3 separate regions of the Homo sapiens genome follow, and all the other regions are linked to region 2. Evidence: promoter capture Hi-C in 16 types of primary human blood cells and fetal thymus (Javierre and others, 2016). All regions are on one chromosome and are shown on one strand. Each heading gives the region's core, a stretch centred on a gene start or on the middle of the fragment in contact. The rest is flanking DNA. Distances are from core to core; before and after follow the strand shown.

Region 1 (3,915 bases), core at 222-2,721, 560 kb after region 2:
CCGAGATTGCACCACTGCAGTCCAGCCTAGGCGACAGAGCGAGACTCTGCCTCGAAAAAAAAAACAGCCAAACAAAAAACAAATGTCAAAATCAGAGGGTAAAGTGGTTTCAGAGGTCAACACTGAGTCACAAGTCAAGTGTGGGGTCAGGTCAGCCTGAGAGTTCAGAGGCTGGTGCTAGGGCTAATGGGCACCCTCACCAGTGGTCCCCGAGGTATAGATGAAGAGGGCAGGGCTTCTCCATGTGATCCCAGCACGCAGGTCAGCAGGCACTGGGTGGGAGGGCGCTGCATCCAGGGCAGCCCCCAGAGCCCCCACCCCTGGTGTAGGGGAGGTATGGCTGAGGTAGAAGCAGCGGATGTTCTCAGCCTGCAGCTTGGGAAGGATCTCCTCCAGGCTCTCCCGGAGGTCTGCAGAGATGGGTCAGAGGAGAAACAGAGGCAAGGCTCACCTTTGAGGTTGCGAGGCGGGATCTGAGACCCACAGATGCAGGCAGAGGAGCAGCTAGTAGAGAAAAGCATCCATGTTGTTTGGTAAAGAATCCCATCATTAGTATTTTTGGTCAAATTGTGGGAAAATTAAACTCTGATGACCTGAGAACTACTTTCTGCTCATAAGTCTTGATTATAATTGCCTGTGAAAGTAGGCAGGTGGGGACCAAGGGCCTCTGCCAGTCCCAGCAGAACCCCTGTCCTATAGTCCCTGCCCTTGCCCCCTTCCATTCTCCACTGGCTCCAAGGCCCTCACCTGGGTCCACCACCAGCACCCGGGCCCCAGAGCTCAGCACAGAGTGCGCCAGGGGCATCCCCCGGCCATGCGGGTTGATCCAGGCTGTTGGGCAGCCCAGCTTGGCCAGCCCCAGCCACATACACAGGGCTGGAACGGCCTGGGAAGCCAGCACAAGGAGGGCAGTAGGCTCCCCGGCACACAGGCTCGCAGGGTCACCCAGCTCAGCCTTCAGGGCCCATGCCGCCTGGCAGGCCCGGGCATCCAGCTCACCAAAGGTGACTGAGCCGGCCCCAGGCCCCGTCCACACCAAGAGTGCCCTGCCAGGCTGCGCTCGTGCTCGCCGCTCGAAGGCATCTACAAAGGTGTCAGGCGGCTGCCGGCTCAAGCATCCCCTGATCTTCAGGCCCAGGTGGAGGATCTTGGCCAAGAAGATCACATCAGCCGGCAGCCAGCGTAGTCCTGGGGGCAGCCGTGCTGGCAGGAGGGTTAGTGCCAGGGCCGCAGCTGCCAGGCTCAGCCCATGGGGCACCCAGGGGCCGAGCCAGGGCCGTGCTAACATGGCCAGCCCAAGTAGCACGCAACATGTGGGATCCCCCAGGAGCCAGCGCAGGGTCAAGGCCACAGCGACTGGCCACACTGGCTGCCCCAGGCCCCAGAGCAGGAGCAGCAGCAGCAGCAGCAAGGCCAACTGTTGCCTGACACCCATGGTACCAGCTCCTCCCTAGGAGCAGCAGCTGTGGAGTGTTCAGGCTCACCTCTGGCCCCTCAAGAGTAGCCCAATGGCTCCTCCCCAGGGGTGGTGGCCCTGGCACTGCTGACAGTGGCTGGTCCTCTCCCCAGGACTTTGCCCCCAGCCCTTCTCCTCTACGTTTGTTTGCTCTGCCTGGTCTTGTGTGTGGGTCCAGCCCCTCTCTGCCTGGCGCTAACCCTTTCCATCACTGGCCTCTGGGTTCCCAGGTCTCTGCCCCTTGGGCACCACTAGCCTCCTTCCTGCTGTCCTGCTTGCCCCATCCACCCTCCAGGGCTGGCATCTAACTCCCTTGCCTCCCCTCCCATCCCTGCTGGGTACCAGACACTCAGAGCACAGAAATCCCTGCCCTTGGGAACACTCCAATCAGGCCAAACAGAAAAGCAACAGGACAGCAAGGTGGACCTCATTGGGAGGTCCTCCTGTGACACCCACTGAAACCCTGAGGAGAGGGGCTCAGCCAGGCTAAGCCCCTTGTCCCATGATCCGAGGAATCGTACCCTCCTGCCAGGCATACAGCAAGTGCTCAGTAAATACAGGAACACTGGCATCGCCTGGATTCAAACCCAGCTCTGCCCCCCACCCATGTGCTTGCTCTGACTCTCTGCTCCACCTCTGGCTTTGACGACGATGGAGTCCTGGGGTTCAGGAGACTGAAGTCAGCCCATGATGCACACAGTTGGATCATGAAAGCCCTGGCCTCTCACCTTGAGGAAGCAGTCTCAGAAGGTGAACCCAGAGGAGCTGCCATTGGCCTAGGAGCCTGGCAGGTCAGGCTGGGGTATGGCCTGGGGCCATACCCCACTCCACCAGCTCCAAATCCTTATGGCAGGGCACCTAGGCTAGGAGCCACTATTGTGCTGAAGAGGAGAGGGGCAAAGAGTGGCTGCTCTCTCCGCTGGATGCAGGGGCCTGGGACACTGGCTGGCCAGTAGGGGTGGTGTCCCCAACCGCCCAGCAGTCAGCCCCAGGATCCCACCCCTCACTGTTTCCTGCCCCCAACACGGCCATCGGAGCCCTCCCTGAACTTTGCCCCCAGCACCAAGGGCAGATATATGGGGGCTTATATACCCTCAGTGCAACCTGGCCCCAAAGATCCCCCTGGGCTCCCCACAAGTAAGGTGCTCAGCCATGTCCATCAAGGTCGGGGAGGGGAAGTCTTAAGTCCAAAAGACCCTTAGAGCCTGACTGGAAGATCTATGGGAGGGGCCTTAAAGGTCGTGGACAGCAGCAACCAGGAGTATGATGGGGCTTTCACGTGGCCTCCCTCTCGGAGACCCACCTCAGATGTGGCCTGCCTATCCTACTCCCCACAGGACTGAGGGATCCAAGAGAACCAAGTGCTGGTTATATATGCAGCCCACCTTAGCCCCTACAGAATAGAGGTCCTAGATGGCAAAGTGGACCATCCTGTTCCTGCCCAGGACAGCCTGTGGGCCGCATGGATGCCACCCAAGAACAGGGACGCTGAACCCTGACACTCACATCTTGTCTATGAGGGCAAGGCACGCACTGATCCAGGTGCTCACAGCTTCGTGGTTTAGGCCCCATGGCCTACAGTCCTTTATTAGAGCGAGAGTCCCGAGGCCCAGCCCCCATATATGATGGGTCCACTTGAGTCTCCTTAGGCGCCCCATGAGGGAGTAACAGCTTGGGTAGAGAGCTAGGGACCTTGCCCAGCCTGACCCTGGGGCAGGCAAGCGGCCCCCCAGCCCCCACCACCACCCCAGGAGAGGGCGGGGTGAGAACCGGAGTCAAATCTTGGGCCGGGTCCAAGCGCCTGAGCGCCCGGTTTACGCAGGAAATAGTCCAGTTCTCAGAAGTGGTCTAACCAGCCCCAGCCCCAGCCCGGCACCACCTGGAGGGTTCAAGTACATGGAGGAGAGGAGTAAGGCGGACTTAGGCCCTGGTATGGAGAAAGGGTGAAGGGAGAGAGAGGACCTGCGCTCAGGAGGGAGCGTGGTCTAGTGGCGGGAACCACGGGTCCCGCAGCGGGCGTGGCCGACTGTGCGGGAGGCCCCGGATCCACCGTGGGCGAGGCCAGGCCCCAGCGCCATCAGGGCGCAGGGTGCGCCGCCAGGTGGCGCTCCAGCAGCGCGCGGTGCGAGAAGACCTTGCCGCAGGCGGGGCAGGGCGCGCGCTCGGGCCGGTGAGTGCGCATGTGCACGTTGAGCGAGCTCTTCTGCGTGAAGCGCTTGGCGCAGACGGCGCACTGGAAGGCGCGCACGCCGGTGTGCGTGACCATGTGTTTGAGCAGGTAGTCGCGTAGAGAGAAGGATCGCCAGCACACGGCGCACTGGTGCGGCTTCTCCCCTGCGGAAGACAGGGCGGGCCGCGAACGCAAGTCAGACTCTACAGCTCCCCGCCCCCACCCCACCCCACCCCCACCTGGGCTCCTGGACCTAGCAGGGGCTCCCCTCCCCTCCCGAACCACCACC
Region 2 (4,130 bases), core at 113-2,612:
TAGCATGGCATAAACAAACCTGATATCCCTAGTGAATATTACTCCTATTGCCAATTTGTTCATCTTAGTTGATGAAACTTCTTTCCCTACAGCTGCTAATACCAAAAACCCTGGAGTCTTCTCTGAACCCTCTGTTTCACTCCCTCACCACCTACATTATGTAATTTAGTTGTCCCTTTTGAAACCACACATCCGGAATCTAACCACATCTCCTAAATCACGATCCTGGGCCAGTAACCCTCACTTGGACTAGTCTACCCTGATTTTCCTTCCTCCTCCCTCAACCCCCCAGTTTGTGCCCCACTGTGCACACAGATGAAGCCTGTGAAGACCTTGGTAAATTACCTCTTTTTTCTGATTCAAACTTGCTATTACCTCCTGAAAACACACTCAACTTCTCAGGCAGCCACTGCAGTCCTGACGCCTATCCTCCTGTTCTTTGCTTCCCACCAGAAAGCAAGGAGACTTGTGGCTTCATAAATGCACCCAGCTCCGTACTGCACCTAAGCATTTGCACATCTTGTACCTTTCTGGAAAAACTTTCCACACCCGTTCACATGGCTGCCAGAAATTGGAACAACTCTATATACCGGCTAACATGGACATAGGACCCTGGGCTTGGGGTTCACCCAAGGTCTTCAGAACTAAGGGCTGGGGGAATGGCACTCCACAACCCAGAGAACCTGTGGGTGGGAGTTAGGGCTAGTGAGAGACTGGGAAACCCTCCCCTTCCTGGCGTAGATTTCATAACCCTTTACAGCCAAGGGAAACGTAGAAAGAGCCAGGCCTCAGAGAAGAGCATCTATGGCGGTATTAGATGGGCTCAAGCCACCCCGTAGCCCCATGCCTGGCCTTGGAGCCGGGTGCCCTCGCAATGGCTGTGTCACCTCTGTGCCCCAGGGCTCAGTGGCGCCTCTCATCAGGGGCTCCTTGCCAGTCGCGCCCTCCCTTCCCTAGCACACCAGGTGTTGGAAACGGGAGCCCCTCCGGCGAGCCCCCGTGTCCTGTCCTGGGCAGCAGGGCCGCGAGCAAGCGCCCTCGGGGGTGCTAGGACTAGCGTGGGGAGGGCGGGGAAGGCCCAGAGGACGCGGCACATACCTGGGCCGGGGCCGTCAGCTCGGCCGCCGCCATCTGACTCTGTGAGCGGAGCGGGGCCAGAGAGGATGTCCTTATTCCGGGCCGGGCCTGGGTACCCTGGGCGCCGCCGAGCCTCAGCCACGCCTCTGTGCAGCGGGGAAGACTCCTCTCGCGCCTTCTCAGTCAGTCACGGATGATGCTGACCCAGCGCTCCGGGGCTTTCTACCAAGTAATCAGTCCAGACAAATGCCAAAACGACCGCCACAAGGAGGACAACGGAAGTCCCGCCGCGACCGCGCGTGCGCTTACGGAAACACCACCTTTCGGAGGCCTCATTGGCTGAAGGTCGCCGTCGCCCAACGCAGGCCATTCTGGGTAATGTTCCCACAGGCGCACGGCGGGAGAGTGAGGGTCGCCTCCACCTCCTTCCGGAAGTAAAGGCCAAACCCCTGTAGGGGGCGCTGGGAAATGGACACTCCAGGTTGGGGCGGAGGCGAGGCTTCGTTCTTTCTTAAAGGAGACGTACCCAGGTTTCTACCGATTGCTGTCTGCCAGTGTTTGTTTGGAGACGTGTCATTTCATGTGTTCCCAGAGGCACATATCCAGATGCACATATTATTACATACAGTCAGTCAGTCACAAAATATATCCACTGGTTGAGAAAGCAAATAAATATGACTATGTTGCGGCCGGGCGCGGTGGCTCACGCCTGTAATTCCAGCACTTTGGGAGGTCGAGGCGGGCGGATCACGAGGTCAGGAGATCGAGACCATCCTGGCTAACTCAGCGAAACCCCGTCTCTAAAATACAAAAAATACCACAAAAAAAAAAAAAAAAAGAAAAATTAGCTGGGTGTGGTGGCGGGCGCCTGTAGTCCCCAGCTACTCCGGAGGCTGAGGCAGGAAAATAGCTTGAACCCGGGAGGCAGAGCTTGCAGTGAGCCGAGATCGCGCCACTGCACTCCAGCCTGGGGGAAAGAGCGAGCCACTGTCTCAAAAAAAAAAAAAAAAAAAAAAAAAAAAAAAGACTATGTTGCAATTCAAACGCATGCACTCAAGCACTGGAGTCAGTTTTCTCAGTCTCTGTATGTTTGATTAGGGACAAGAAAAAAAACACTCCACACAGGTTCATGACAAAGAGGATGAAGGTGGGATGCGGAGGCACCCTGCAGCAGCAGGACATAAGTAGATCCCTGTCTCTGGGTCCCTCTCGTGCCTGTGTAGTCAAACATTGTGTCCAATTCACTAAGCAACACTTGCATGAATCTAATCTCACTTTCTCCATGCCTTTATATTCACTTCTTTTTAATAATTTGACATCAAGCTCAGAAAGAGAACAACAAAAGGAATGGTATTTTGAAAAGGCATGATGGCTAGCTAGAGCATTAACAGGTGGAACAAAGGGTGCTCTGAATCCCAAATGTAGGGTGTATCTTAAATTCAAGATCTCTTCTCAACGCTGAAATGATTATCTTTGCCCCCATTAGTTACGCTCTTGTTGCCCAGGCTGGAGTGCAATGGTGCGATCTCGGCTCACCACAACCTCTGTCTCCCGGGTTCAAGCGATTCTCCTGCCTCAGCTTCCCAAGTAGCTGGAATTACAGGCGCCCGCCACCGTACCCGGCTAATCTTTTTTTTTTTTTTTTTTTTTTGTATTTGTATTTTTAGTAGAGACGGAGTTTCGCCATATTGGCCAGGCTGGTCTCGAACTCCTGACCTCAGGTGATCCACCCACCTCGGCCTCCCAAAGTGCTGGGATTACAGGCGTGAGCCACTGTGCCCGGCCCTTTGCCCCCATTATTATAGGGCTGTTCTGCATAAAAAATTGATACGATATCAGAAAAAGAATTGTAAAATACAAATTACAGAAAGCTACTAATAATGGGTGTCGCTTCGCCAGCCAGAAACCTCTGTGGTCGCGCCTCTGCTTGAGTTTTGCTCACACCCGCTGGGCTTGTTCCACCCACTCGGCCCAGCAGGCTGCACCTGGATCCCACACCTACCAAGGGCGAGCCAGGCGCGGAGCCGCAAGGGGTGTGTGAGCGAGCAAGTGAAGGGTCCAGCCAGTGCACACAGCCAGGCACGCTGGCTGCTGCGGCGGGGCGGGCAGCTCCAGGCGCTGGCACAGGCGCCGGCTCCTTGCAAGTCTGCGACTGGACCAGACATACTGCAGGCGGCTTCTGCTGCAGGCACCAGCATCTAGACGAGGGAAAAATGGTGGCGCCGGAAAGCTCGGAGACACCAAGAACAGCAGAACCCCAAAGAGGGTGTTGCAGCATGTCACAGCCCTGGCTCCGGAGTCTCGAGGCCTGGGCTCCCGGAAGAGCCACAGCTCTTCTCTCCTTCCCGTTGCTTGCAGCCTGGCAAGCGGGGAGGTGTGTTTTGGGTGGGGTGTGTTTTCAGCTTGTTTGTGATATAGCTCTTTCAGTCCCGCTGCCCTGCTCTGGCTCGCTGCTGCTTCCCATCGTGGGGGGCGGCCACCCAGTGCTGGCTGAGGGCAGGAGGGCTATAGTGTTACAGCTCTGGCTCGGGGAATCCCAAAGTCTGGGCCTCCAGAAGAGTCGCCATTTTTCACTCATGCAGCCCAGAAGCATGGCTACTCAGCCAGGAATGTGTTACAGCCCCTTTCTCTCCTGCTGTTCGTTAGGTCCCAAGTTCTTGTCCCCCAAGTTCTTATCCCACGTCCAGGAAGAATGAGGTTATGCAGACAACTGGAGGGTGAGCAAGGCAGAGAAGGGTTTTATTGGACAACCCAACAGCCCTCAGGAAACCTGAAGGGAGTAGCTCACACCTGCATACAGATAGTCTCCGATGTCTGAGTCTGGCTGAGTCTACAGGTTTTTTATGGGCTCAGAATGGAGAAAGTGTGTGCTCATTGGTCCATGGGTGGTAGGAAGTGCATGCTGATTGGCCCATGGGCAGTCATGGGCGGGCCTGGGAAAAACACCATACCATTGGCCGAAAGGCGTCAAGGAATTTCTCTCTCTGGGTCACAGACTCCACCTGGAACTGGCAGCGTGGCCTCCAGGCTTCAGGCCATTCGTGGCTTGAAGG
Region 3 (4,026 bases), core at 422-2,921, 520 kb after region 2:
CTTTAATACTTCTAAGTGTTGGGGTTTTTTTTTTCCCCCTCAGGGTTTTTGTTTGTTTTTTCCTGAGACAGGGTCTCTCTCTTACCCAGGCTGGAGTGCAGGGGCTCCATCATAGCTCACTGCACACTCCAACTCCTGAACTCAATCCTCCCACCTCAGCCTCCCATGTAGCTGGTATTACAGGCATGCAAGACCATGCTCAGCTAATTTTTATATTTTTTTATAAAGATGGGGTCACATTTTGTTGCTCAGGCTGGTCTCAAACTCCTAGGCTCCAGTGATCGCTCACCTTGGCCACCCAAAGTGCTCAGATTCCAGGTGTGAGCCACTGCGCCCAGTCCTGAAATGTTCTTAAATTCTTTCAAAGTAGCAAAATTTATATTAAAACATTCCAAACATGATGAGCTCCCTTGCTCTACAAGGATTTACAAGTAGAATCAATTAGGTGGACAGTTATAGCTGACAGTTGACAGAGAGATAGTTATAGATGGAGGTAGGTATAGAGGGAGGGAGGCAAAAAGAGTTAAGGAACTGGACAGCTGAGAACTGTCTACAGGTTCCAAAAACAAGACAAAGAACCTTTTATTATCTGCCAAACAAGACAGTCTACATTGAGACTGCTCTGCCTTTCGTTTTTATGTGTCAAAGACACTTAAATTGGCCTGTAATCCCAGCACTTTGGGAGAACGAGGTGGGCGGATCACCTGAGGTCAGGAGTTCAAGACCAGCCTGGCCAACATGGTGAAACTCCATCTCTACTAAAAAATACAAAAATTAGCCAGGCATGGTGGCGCACACCTGTGGTCCCAGCTACTACGGAGGCTGAGGCGGGGGGATCACTTGAACCTGAAGGCAGAGGTTGCAGTGAGCCGAGATTGTGCCACTGCACTCCAGCACGGGCAACAGAACAAAGACCCTGTTAAAAAAAAAAAAAAAAAACTTAAATGAGTCCCAAGAAAAAAGGAAAAAAGAATGAATATTGTGATGTGTGGGGCAAGACAAGATCTAGATGGTCTAAGGACAAGCAAATCTGGGGAATTAACTTCTGCCCATCCAAATTACAAGGAAAACAGATGCTTTGGGCAAGTGTCGAGGAACAGTCTCATACTTAAGACAAATGTAGGCTTACGGGCTGAGAATTCTTGGTGTAAAGGTTGAAAACGGACCTTAAACCTTTACGGGACATTGACACAGAGAGGTCAAACCCGCGCCCAGGACGCACAGTCAGTGAGAGGCAGAGCTGGGAAGGGAACCCGGAGCTCCAGGCATCGGCTCCTCCACCTCCACCTGCGCTACCCGGTGCATTTTCTCCTCCGTGCTCACTGCTGGTGTTGCCTCTTGGAACCTCGGCAGTTTCTGCTTTCGCACCTGCAGGGTTTAGTCTCCGGGACTGCTTGGGAGGACACCTGGAATGCCGAAGGCAGGACTACACACCGGGCGAATCCACCAGCGCCACCAAGCCCTTGAAAACCCGAGGCCGCCGCGCGACTCCATTTCCCAGCGCCCCGCGCGGCAGGGGCTTGGACGTTGCCAAGGAGACCGGTAGTGGCCCCGCCTCCACGCAGGGAAACAGGCGGGAACCACGTGACCCGGAAGGCTGTACGCAAGCGTCCGCGGCGCGCACTGGGCCAATGAGAACCGAAGGGCTGGACTTCCGGCGGTGGGACTGTCACTTCGCCGCCCGCGTCAGGCCACACCGGTGGTCTGGGCTGGGGACCGCGGGTCGGGTCCGGTTTCCAGGGGGTTCCTGGTGCTCGAGGCTGGCGGCGAGGAAGGTACTGGCTGAGGGCCCGCGTCGGGCCCGCCCTGCGCACGCGTCGTGATCAAGGGCGCCGGCCGCCGGCCGCGCCCCCAAGCCTCTGTTTCTCAGAGTGCGTCGTGGGCGTCCAGGGGACTGTCGGGCCGCGGCGGGAGCCATGCGCTCTCCCACCGTGCGGCAGCCCAGGAGGCTGCGCGCTGGGCGTTCCACGTCCATGATGGCCGGGGAGACTGAGGCGCGGGGCGGCCCCGGGACGCTGCTGGCGGGGAAAGGCTGGGTGGTCCACGCCTTTCTTCCCTCCCAGCTGCGGGTTCCGCTGGCGGCGGTGGCGCTGACAAGCCCGCGTCGGGGAAGCAGGGGAGTCCCTGCTCACACAGACCGCGCCCTCACGGAGGGAGGCCGCTTCCTAGACCTCGCCTAGTCGTCTTTCCTCTCCCTGCCCTGGGGGGGTTGCGGGGGTCAGTGCAAACTCCTGCGTCCAGGGCACTGGTGAGCTCCCGAGTTCGGGCAGCCAGGGGGCTGAGGTCCCGAAGGAGGCTCCGAGGGGAGAGTCCTGCGTGTGCAAAACCTGGGAGGGGAGCCGAAGCCCAGGTGCTTCTGGGACTGAGCTCTCTCGATGTGGAGCTGGAGTAGAGGGGATGTGTGCGGCTGCAGTATCAGGCGAGGGAGTGGGCTTTATCTCGAGGGCGTCGGGAGACATAGAAGTTTTGAACAGAATCAGGACATCCTCTGAGGACTTTAAAACGGTTCCACCGTTTGTTGCGTGGAGAACAGACATGCAGGGGTGTCGGCATGAAGGGAAGAACCGACTGCCACAGTCTGGGCAGCAGTGGAGGTGGGCGACCAGGTGAATTCTGGTGGATCTGCGGATGCATCAGGTGTGGGCTGTTTGAAGAACTAAGTACCCCATGTTGTTCAGCCTGAGCGCCTGGAAGAAGAGAGCTGCTGTAGATAGAAAGGAGAATTGAAAGGAAAGCAGGTTTCCTTCAGGGGAAAGATCAAGAGTCTGGGATGTCCCAGGTTGGTCATGTCACTGGACCTGACGTTGTTGGCGTCCTGGGCTGTGGACAGGGCCTATGAATTGGACTGAGGAATGGGCAGGGACTCAGCCAGGTGTGGGCAGTTATGGCTTGAGGGTAAAGAAGACCAGCTGGGATGCCTGGGGCTATTGGGAAGAGCCTAGCACCTAACTGAGGAGGGGAGGGTGGCAACAGAGAGGGGAAGAAAGGGGACACCGGGTGAAAGGAGGAAGGGATTGAGTTCCTCTGTGTTCACAGGTTGTTGAGGCTGCTCCCCTGTGGCGACTGGTGAGAATCATCCAGTCCCTCAGGCTGGATGAGCAGCCTGGAAATGTCAGGCAAGCAGGCTCAGCAGGGGAGGGTCCCAGTGATGGGTATGCCTGGGAAGCCCCTGCTGGGACTCACAGTTTCTTGCTACAAGAGCAGGAAGGGTGCATCTGGGGAGGGTCATGAGTGGTCATGCTGAGTCACGAGTGGACACCTGGGGCTGCTCTTGGTGTGGCAGCTGAGGGCCCAGCCAGGACTTGTTCTAGCTTGCTTGTGTATGGCGTTGCCAGTGGGGAGGCCAAGAAGGCATCTGGGGTCTGGTCAGGGAGGGCAGAGGGGAGGGGTCCCAGACATGTGAGGGAAGTGCCATCTGAAGATGGTGGGGGCAGAACCCAGGGAAGGAGGGTGAGTGTCTGAGGGACATCATGGAAGGTGGCTGTTGGGATGGGGAGCTTGGTCCTGGCTCACAGCCATACCTTAAACTAAGCTTGTCCAACCCACTGCCCAGGATGGCTTTGAATGCAGCCCAAAACAAGTTCGTGAACTTTCTTAAAACATGAGATGTTTATGCAATTTTTATTTTTTTTAGCTCATCAGCTGTTATTAGTGTTAATGTATTTTATGTGTTGCCCAAGACAATTCTTCTTCCAATGTGGCCCAGGGAAGCCAAAAGATTGGATAACCCAGCCTTAGACCATGGCTGTCTCTTCCTCCCTGCTCTTTTAGGACCAGATGGCCTTTGAGGATGTGGCTGTGTACTTCTCCCAGGAGGAGTGGGGGCTCCTGGACACAGCCCAGAGGGCCCTGTACCGCCGCGTGATGCTAGACAACTTCGCACTTGTGGCCTCGCTGGGTAAGGTCCTAGATACTCCATGAAATGGGCAACTGATAACAAGCTGACTGGCCAGGGCTGCCCCCTCACCTCCCTGGTGGCTGACGAGCAGGCCTATACCTTGCAGCCAGGAGCCATGTGGAATAGGG

The links. Contacts are between HindIII fragments. The CHiCAGO score rates a contact against its expected background, and 5 or more counts as called.
Region 1: a contact is called between the fragment with the promoter of SLC27A5 here and the fragment with the promoter of ZNF256 in region 2, in 1 of 17 cell types (neutrophils). The highest score is 5.1, in neutrophils.
Region 3: the fragment with the promoter of ZNF324 here is called in contact with the fragment with the promoter of ZNF256 in region 2 in 2 of 17 cell types (total B cells and neutrophils); the score reaches 8.4 in total B cells.

What each region holds. Positions count from the first base shown.
Region 1 is chr19:58,510,521-58,514,435 of GRCh38, forward strand. It overlaps SLC27A5 (solute carrier family 27 member 5), which reads right to left and starts at 1,472. Exons shown (of 10, transcript NM_012254.3): 1 at 748-1,472; 2 at 201-410. The coding sequence starts at 1,435. It overlaps LOC105372485 (a long non-coding RNA gene), which reads left to right. Exons shown (of 2, transcript XR_001754024.2): 2 at 1-603. It overlaps ZBTB45 (zinc finger and BTB domain containing 45), which reads right to left. Exons shown (of 3, transcript NM_001316979.2): 3 at 3,010-3,790. The coding sequence ends at 3,534. RefSeq lists an enhancer at 1,175-1,689 and silencers at 3,474-3,523, 3,544-3,743, 3,854-3,903. The HindIII fragment of the contact is 7,866 bases long and covers 1-3,915 here.
Region 2 is chr19:57,946,344-57,950,473 of GRCh38, forward strand. It overlaps ZNF256 (zinc finger protein 256), which reads right to left and starts at 1,363. Exons shown (of 3, transcript NM_005773.3): 1 at 1,099-1,363. The coding sequence starts at 1,131. RefSeq lists enhancers at 772-851, 1,342-1,441, 1,512-1,601. The HindIII fragment of the contact is 12,388 bases long and covers 1-4,130 here.
Region 3 is chr19:58,465,409-58,469,434 of GRCh38, forward strand. ZNF324 (zinc finger protein 324) reads left to right here and starts at 1,672. Exons shown (of 4, transcript NM_014347.3): 1 at 1,672-1,775; 2 at 3,772-3,898. The coding sequence starts at 3,778. RefSeq lists enhancers at 1,403-2,019, 2,020-2,634, 3,053-3,172 and silencers at 1,662-1,711, 1,792-1,921. The HindIII fragment of the contact is 6,014 bases long and covers 1-3,530 here.